Regions from separate parts of the Homo sapiens genome. Here regions 1 and 3 are each linked to region 2. Evidence: promoter capture Hi-C in 16 types of primary human blood cells and fetal thymus (Javierre and others, 2016). All regions are on one chromosome and are shown on one strand. Each heading gives the region's core, a stretch centred on a gene start or on the middle of the fragment in contact. The rest is flanking DNA. Distances are from core to core; before and after follow the strand shown. Region 1 overlaps KAT6A (lysine acetyltransferase 6A). Region 2 holds the start of SMIM19 (small integral membrane protein 19). Region 3 overlaps KAT6A (lysine acetyltransferase 6A).

Evidence for each region. The method cuts DNA at HindIII sites, captures the fragments that hold promoters and counts their contacts. A CHiCAGO score of 5 or more calls a contact.
Region 1: a fragment that was not itself captured here is called in contact with the fragment with the promoter of SMIM19 in region 2 in 3 of 17 cell types (non-activated CD4 T cells, total CD8 T cells and activated CD4 T cells); the score reaches 7.3 in non-activated CD4 T cells.
Region 3: a contact is called between a fragment that was not itself captured here and the fragment with the promoter of SMIM19 in region 2, in 1 of 17 cell types (fetal thymus). The highest score is 5.3, in fetal thymus.

Annotation. Positions count from the first base shown.
Region 1 is chr8:41,959,150-41,962,016 of GRCh38, reverse strand. All of the region lies in intron 8 of KAT6A (lysine acetyltransferase 6A), which reads left to right. Among named protein-coding and RNA genes, the nearest start is that of KAT6A-AS1, 91 kb to the left of the region's middle. The HindIII fragment of the contact is 5,570 bases long and covers 1-2,867 here.
Region 2 is chr8:42,540,156-42,543,135 of GRCh38, reverse strand. It overlaps SMIM19 (small integral membrane protein 19), which reads right to left and starts at 1,551. Exons shown (of 4, transcript NM_001135674.2): 1 at 763-1,551. It also overlaps a transcript of SLC20A2 not described here. RefSeq lists silencers at 1,131-1,550, 1,691-1,970. The HindIII fragment of the contact is 8,293 bases long and covers 501-2,980 here.
Region 3 is chr8:41,997,432-42,000,290 of GRCh38, reverse strand. All of the region lies in intron 2 of KAT6A (lysine acetyltransferase 6A), which reads left to right. Among named protein-coding and RNA genes, the nearest start is that of KAT6A-AS1, 53 kb to the left of the region's middle. The HindIII fragment of the contact is 2,046 bases long and covers 310-2,355 here.

The sequences.
Region 1 (2,867 bases), core at 166-2,665, 580 kb after region 2:
GGCCAAGTAAGAAGAGAACTGAAAATTGACTGTCCAGCTTAGCAACAAGGAAGTAATCTTGAGAAACTGTTTCCATGATGGGGACAGGGGAGGGTGAAGAGATAATTGGAGTGGTTTCAAGAAAGAATGGAAGGAGAAATTGGTTATAGTAGTAATATGTGGCCATTGTTTTGAGGTTTTTTACAGTAATTAGGAGCAGAGAAAGGGAGAGTTGGATAGAGCTGTGAGGGCTAAAGAAGATACTTTTTTTTTTTTTTTTTTTTTTGAGATGGAGTCTCGCTCTGTCACCAGGCTGGAGTGCAGTGGCACCATCTCGGCTCATTGCAACCGCCACGTCCCGGGTTCAAGGGATTCTCCTGCCTCAGCCTCCCGAGTAGCTGGTACTACAGGTGTGCGCCACCACTCCCAACTAATTTTTCTATTTTTAGTAGGGACAGGGTTTCACCATGTTGGCCAGGATGGTCTCGATCTCTTGACCTTGTGACCCGCCCACCTTGGCCTCCCAAAGTGTTAGGATTACAGGGGTGAGCCACCATGCCCACACACCCCTCTCCCCCTTTTTAAAATATGGAATGAATAACAGCTGTTTGTATGCTGATGGAATGCTCTGGTAGAGGGAAAGCTGATGATGCAGAAGATAGGAGGGGAACTGCTGGGTGATGTTCTTTGGCTAGGGAGCAGGAAGATGTTATCTCATGCACAAACGGAAGCCGTGGGCTTAGGAGCTCAATCTTTAGCCATAGTATTGGTGAAAGGCAGGATGTGTGGCACAAAGGTGGAGGCAGACAGATGTGGGTGGGAAAAATTGCAGAAGTTTTCTTTTGATTTTGTCCAGTTTAGTGCAGTAGGAAGCAAAAGCATTGGCTGAAAGTGAAGGTGGAGTAAGCAGTGTTGGAGGCTTGAGCAGAGGAGAAAGGGTGCAGTTGTCTTTCAGAACGGGAGAGTGAATGGAGTAGGAAGCATCAGGACCTGCTTGAGGTTTGTGGGTAGGTGTATAATGTGAGACTGGGTAGCATGATTCTCTGTTTTTCTCCACCCATATTCACATTAAGGTAATAACTTCGATTATGTGAAGAGTTGAATTTAACAGGGGTTAGGATTTTGTTGTGAAATTAGAAGAGAAACTAGAGAGTTAAAGGTCTATGCAAAGGGTGGAATTACAGGGAAAAAGACCTTAGAATCTAAGCTGCGTAGAGAGAAAGGAGGGTGTGGGGAGAGTGGAAAGCTGATGGAAGCACTGGATTATGGGTCCTCCGGATGGAAAAGGTAAGATGGCCGAGGACAGAATTCTAGATTTTGTCAATATTTAATGGTAAAAGAATTAGCAAAGGAGATGGATAAAGAGAAGTCTGAGTGTAGAGCAAAAAGGCTTAGGAAAAGGGAAAGATAGGTCACAATATCCAGAATCCTGAAATTTAAGGAGTCCTGAAAATTTGAAAAAAAATAATTGTGGTAAAATATACATAATGTAAAAGTTATTTTAACCAGACTTTTTTTTTTTTTTTTTTTTGAGACGGAGTCTTACTCTGTCACCCAGGCTGGAGTACAGCGGCGTCATCTTGGCTCACTGCAAGCTCCGCCTCCCGGGTTCTCGCCATTCTTTGTATTTTTAGTAGAGACGGGGTTTCACCTTGCTAGCCAGGATGGTCTCGATCGTGATCCGCCGGCCTTGGCCTCCCAAAGTGCTGGGATTACAGGCATGAGCCACTGCGCCCGGCCTAACCAGACCATTTTTAAGTGTACAATTCAGTGGCATTAAAGACATTCACCTTGTTGTGCAATCATCACCATCATCTATTTCCAGAACTTTTTTATCTTGCAAAACTGGAACTCTGTACCCATTAAACAACTCCCAACCCCCCACCCCTACCCCCACCCCTGGTAAGCATCATTCTGTCTTCTGCCTTTATTAATTTGTCTACTCTAGGTACCATAAGTAGAATTATACAATATTTGTCCTTTTGTGTCTGGCTGTTTCACTTAGCATAATGTCCCCAAGGTTCATATGTATTTTAGCCTGTGTCAGAATTGCCTTCCTTGTATTTTTTTTTTTTTTCTTTAAAGACAGAGTCTTGCACTGTTGCCCAGGCTGGAGTGCAGTTGCGCGATCTTGGCTCACTGCAACCTCTGCCTCCCGGGTTCAAGTGTTTCTTCTGCCTCAGCCTCCCGAGTAGCTGGGACTACAGGCATGTGCCATACACCCAGCTAATTATTGTATTTTTAGTAGAGACGGGGTTTCACCACGTTGGCCAGGATGGTCTCAATCTCTTGACCTCATGATCTGCCCACCTTGGCCTCCCAGAGTGCTGGGATTACAGGCGTGAGCCACCAGCGCCCAACCATTGCCTTCCTTTTTAAGGCTGGAGAATATTCCATTGTACGTATGTACCACATTTGGTTTATCCATTCATCTGTCAGTGGATACTTGGGTTGTAAATAGTGCTGCTATGAACATGAGTATGCAAATAGATACCCATATACAAAGAACTGCTTTCAGTTCTGTGGGGTCTATAATCAGCAGTGGAATTGCTAGATTATGTGGTAATTCTGTTTACTTTTTTGAGGAACCATCATACTGTTTTCCACAGCAGCTGTGCCATTTTGTATTCCCGCCAGCAATGGGACAAGGGTTCTGATTTTTCCACATCTTCACCAACATCTGTTATTTTCTGGTGTTTTGCATTTAAAAATAATAACCATCCTAATGGGTGTGAAGTAGTATCTGATTGTGGTTTGATTTACATTTTCCTAATTATTAGTGATGTTGAGCATCTTTTCATGAGCTTATTGGCCATCTGTATATCTTCTTTGGAGAATGGAAAGAAACTTTTCCAACTTTTTTTTTTTTTTTTTTTTTCGAGACAGTC
Region 2 (2,980 bases), core at 302-2,801:
AATGCTTGAACTATTTCAGTAAGGAGAGGCTAGGATGGGCTGAATTAAGTCTCAAGTAAACAAGAGTATATAAACTTGCCAATATATTACAACTAGGGGTTGGTTTTAGATTGACAAACTTTTAGGATGAGAACTACTTTTTTTTTTTTTTTTACAAAAACAGGGTCTCACTCTGTCACCCAGGCTGGAGGGCAGTGGTGCGATCTCGGCTCACTGCAGCCTCGACGTCCCAGAATCGAGGGATTCTCCTGCCTCAGCCTCCCAAGTAGTTGGGAATACAGGCAAGTGCCACCATGCCTGGGTAATTCTTATTTTTTTTTTTTTAAAGACGGGGGTGGGGTGGGGGTCGTCTCACTATACTGCCCAGGCTGGTCTCAAAACTCCTGAGCTCAGGCAATCCGCCCGCCTCAGCCTCCCAAAGTGCTGGGATTACAGGCGTGAGCCACCGTGCCCAGCCGAGAACTACTTTTTCTAGGGACTAGGTCACTGTATCATAAGCTTTAAAATCTGTGTCGTGATTTTGGGTTCCTGATGTCACGTCTAGGTGATTCTAAAATTGACCACCGCTTGTCATCGTGCCTTGAATGTTATCATTTTTGTCTCTCACTTAGAACTTTGTTACTTTGATACAAATTCACATTGGAACCACTTAGTTCCTAGAGTCCCTTACAACAAAATCCTCTGCATCAAAAAATGGGATTTCTTTCTCTCATCCCTCTGAAACACTAAAGGCTTGGTATTCTGAAGCCAAAGGGTACATACAAGCTCACAGGCCTTCACCCAACATCCAGGAAAGCAATTCACAGGTGCTGGGCAGTCCACAGAGTCACTGAATTATCCCAACAACCCTGCTGGGCGGCACTAAAGCTCCATTTTACAGGAGAAGAAACTGGGGTGGCGGCGGTGGTTATATAACTTGTCCAAAGCCACACAGGCCTGGGCGTGGAGGCGCGGGGCTGTTATACACACGACTCCCAAACCTGAACTCTTCCAGTCTTGGCCCCGATCCTGCGAGACCTGCTCCTTCCGGAAGAAAGTCAAGTGGAGCAGGGAGAAAATGTAATCCTCTCCCAGGAAGCAGCCCGGGTCCCAGGGCGGCGAGGCTCTAGGGACGTTTCCGCCGCCCGCAGGCTGCGCGTGATTCAGCCTCAACCCTCCCGCCGAGCCCCCGCCGCCCCGGCAGATGGGCCGCCGCAACTGGCCCGTGTGCGCTTCCGGAAGCGGGCGACTCGCAGCTCCACGCGACGCCGAGGGGCTCCGCGCCGGGACCGGGCGGGTGCTCGGAGTTTCGGGGACCGCACGGGACCGAGGGCAGGCGGGCGGCCACCCCCCTTACCCCCGCGTCCGGGGCGGGGCGGGCGGCGCGGGGCGGGGCCGGGTGACGCGGCCCCGCCGGGGACCGGGAGAAGCGGGGACGCGGGGCCACTCACGCTGCCGGCTCCGGAGGCGGCACGCGGCCAGCGCTGCTCCGCTCCGGGGCTCTTTACCCCGGAGTCGGGGCCGGGCGCGCGGGAAACGGTTACCGAGCGGACCTGGACGCCCTCTGCCTTCGTCATTTCCTGCCGGCCGGTCGGTTTCCGGATGAAACGAGGAGCCAGGTCTTTTTTTTTTTTTTTTCCTTTCCCCTTTTCAGTTTTTTGAGCCGGAGAGACGCAGCGGCGGCCCCAGTGCCGCCCCCGGGCGCGTGAGTGGAGCCGGGCTCCTTTCCCCTACCGCGCCGCGACCCCCGCCCGGGCTGCGCGCGCCGCCTCCCGCGAGCCCCCGGCCCGACTCCCGGGCTCCCGCGGGTGGGGGCCAGGGCTGGTCGGCGCCGGCGGGGCTCGCGGCGGCGGCGGGTTGCGTCCCCCGCGCCTGCTGGCCCACGTGGACCTGGCCGTCGCTTGCCGTGCGGCGCCTTTGCGAAAACTCGACGGAAGTGGCAGGGACCGGGCATTACCTGCGAGTGCCGGGCGCCTCCTGCTCCGCTGTGCGCGCTTGGGGTGGGACTCGGCGGGGGAGGGGTCGTGTACATTGTCCCACCAGGCGCAATGTAGCCGGGCGGCGCAGAGGATTTCTTTTTTGGTCTTGAGAGCATAGAGTCCCTTTTCATATTCACGTGTACTCTTAAGAAAGCGTCTGTTCTCCAAACTGGCTTTCCATTCTCCCCGTCCTAAATGGTGCGTGGCTGACACCGTAGTGTTTTCAAAACTGGATATGGCCAGGATGCTATAGCATTGTCAGTGTAAGTCCCTTTTGGGTATTTTTATTTAATTGTGTAGTGACTTGACAGAAGTGTTTCCCAGCTTGACCTAAGTAATGAATTTGCATAGGATTTCAGCATCAGTATGGAAGTGATCAGATGTCAGTGGCTGGTGCCACCTTGCAGATAAATGGCCACTGGTCCACGTAGTTCGTCTTTACTATACATTTTGATTAAGTTCTCTAGGACCAGCTGACTGGTAATTATAAGTCACATGAAACCCTGCAGAGATGAGAGCTTACATTGAACACTTCTTAACAAGTTTTCTATTCTTTGTTTCATCTGTTACAATTAAACTCACCTTCGTCTAGGGTAAGACCATTACTTTACGCAATAACATACTAGCTTAATTTACGGTATTTATATGTATTTATATATATTGTATATACATAATCATACATATAATTCTATAACATTTAGTTTGACTCTAAAGTTGGAAAATCAGGAAAATAACAGGTGATGTTGAGTACTGATTGTTTGCCGGGCCTGTGCCAAATGGTGTGCATGCTTTATGTAACTTAATCTAAAAAAATTTGAATACGTGAGTTTGATTTCAGTGTGTCCAAATGTGAAACGTGTACATTATTGTTATTGTTTTGTTTTTTTTGAGACGGGGTTTTGCTCTCGTTCAGGCTGGAGTGCAATGGCACTGTCTTGGCTCACTGCAACCTCCGCCTCCCGGGTTCAAGCGATTCTCCTTCCTTAGCCTCCCAGGTAGCTGGGATTACAGGCGCCCGCCAC
Region 3 (2,859 bases), core at 83-2,582, 540 kb after region 2:
GCGTGAGCCACCGGGCCTGGCAACCATCACTTCTGTATATATTTTAGCATAGAAATATTCTTTTGCTAATGCTCTTATACTCAAGTACCACTAAATTATTTTTTTAAGTGGGTAATATGCAGTGTGGCAAATGTGTATGTACAAAGACTTTAAAACTCTTAATGCAGTTGCATAAGTAAATACCATATATAGAAAATTTCTTAGGCCACAGGAAATTTTAATGAACTTGCCTATTTCAGGAAGTTAAAATAGAACTAAAACTTGCCCTGAGTTAAGAAGTGGCAATCAGTCAGTTAACAAAAATAAGCTTTGAAGGATAGATACAGTTTTGAAAAAGGTGTAGCAGAAACTAGCACTTACTAGGTGTTTCTTACATTTGAATTACACAGCCATAACTTTATCTGTTAATCTTCACATTAACTTGAAAGGCAGGTATGTTGTACTTTTCAACACTTAAGTAACTTGCTTAAAGTGATGCCACAGTGGCAGAACCCAGTTTGTTTCTAAGTGCTGCTGAGGTGATTCTTGTAGGTGGAGATACAAACGACTTTGAGAGAAGGGGTAAAATACCCTGGAGAATGAGCGTAAAGTATGATTTCTGAAGATGAATGAGTAGATTGGGAATAGAGGAAGATAGAGTGAGAAAGGTAGTTTAGTATATAAAGGAGGGAATTGAATGCCAGCCTGTGGGAGTTGACAGTTGAGATATATTTTATAAGTTTTGAGCCAGGCAAATGACTGGATAAAAATAGTATTTAAGGAGGATTAATCTGGTAGCAATATGCAGAAAAAAGTCAAAGAAAGAGTAGAGGGAGTCAGTCTATGGAGGAGATTGCATATGGTGACATGACTGAGTCAGGAGAGAGGTACAAACATGTAAAAGAAACTAAAGTAGAAAGAAAAGGACCACAAAGGAAGGGAGAGGCAATAATAATTTGTAAATATCATCCAGTATTTGGATGAATGAGGAAATGTATCACTGACAAATAGAAAGTGGAGCTTTCAAATAACCACTAAACCTGTGAAAGGAAGATAACGCTTTGCAGTTTCTTAACTTAGAATTTAAATTCAGCAAATATGGATATTGTCATTTTTGATGTCACTTCTGATTAAGAAATAGAAGATTGTTAGAGTATCTTAATAGATGATTGATTTCTTATCTGAATTTCCAATAATCTACATACATAGTAAAAGTGGAAATTGAAGTTTATCATTACTGATCCAATTATATCATTAACTTTCACCAGTAATCTTATTGATGTCTAATTGTAGAAGTCATTGAATGAACTCATCATAATAAAAATGAATTCAATTTAGCATCCCTATTAAAGTTTTGTAATGGCTAATGGGTTATGTTGGAATTGATTAAAATTATAGAAAGTTATATACTATAAGTAATGGAAATTATAGGTCTTTTCCCAGGCCATTCATTTTTTTTTTAATTATTATAAATCTTTTGCAGGTGTGTACTTTTGAGAACAGCTTATCCTTAAAAATGTTTAATAAGCAGCCATAGAGTACTTGATAGTATATGGGATGCTGAAGAATTTAAAGAGATTAAAGTCCACCCAGATATAGTTTCCTTGAAGATATAGAATCTAGGAGGAAAGGCTCTGAGTAAGTAATGATAAATGGAGCTAAGCATGGTTTCATTGCATTTTAATTTCAACAAACGCTTACTTAGTATATACTAAGTGCAAGGCATAGGTGAATTAAGTGGTGATATCTGCTCACCTAGGATATCAGTTTGGAAAAGGTGGCTAAAAATGGAATTCAAAACTGTCAGAAAGGATTTGGTCAGAGCATGAGTTCATCAAAGGCTATTATTAGTGAAAGAATGAAAAACTTGGTAAAATTGACATGAAGAGCTTGCCTGAGTGGAAGAGAACCATACGTTTTAGAACATTCAGCTTTCTCAAAGTATGAACACTTTCCAACAAAGGATGAGTTTCCTAAAGGGAATATGTGTGCAGTTTGTTACTCTTATGATATTGGAAATAACGAATTTTGCAGAGATTCTTCCAGAAGGCTTACTTTTTTGGTGTGTGAGTGAAAATATGAATGGTACTTAATTGGTTTCTAATTGTTTTGTGTGGATTTTGTCTTTGAATTGACTGACATTTATAAGTGCTTTGAAAATGTGAGTACAACCTTTTCTTTGATTGATTCAAATTTTTATGTTATGTTAAAATGCCCACCAAGGAGTAACATTTACTAGACTTCTTACTGTGTATTGGGTTATATTTTGACAACCTAGCAATACTCGTTTTCCTCATGCCCAGTCATTGAGCATCATTTTGGTTTCCTTCACTATACCATGCCTGAAAATAGTCCAATTTTCCACCCTTCTAAGCTTAAGACTTAACTCCTCTTAATCCTTCAGGTATTTGTATAGTAGAGTGCTTGTCAGTAGATGTTTATCAGCTTATAGATAATGTCTCTGCTGAAAATTATTTGTTTCAAGTTCTGTGAAACAAATACCCACCGAAGAAAGTTAATTTCAAGTTAAATTTACTTTACTTGATTATAGAAGAAGGGAGTAGGATGAAGTACCTGGGAGCCACTAGAGGACTGGAGAGGCAGTCTAGGTTGTAGTTGTAGAGGGATAGATTTGAGAGAAGCTTATGGTGGTTTATGCTCAGAGTAACCTGGATGGATAAGATATATGGTGGTCAGAAAGAATTTTTTGTTTGAGACTGAAAAGTGTTTGATCTATAGATTTAATTCTTAAAAATTTTTCTTAAGACAAAGTGAGTTGTTTTTATGCAATTGGATTAAAAGATAACTAACTTCCATGTAGGTACAGTGAAAATAAAATGGCTAACATTTAAATTCAGTAGCCAAATATAATTGTTATTA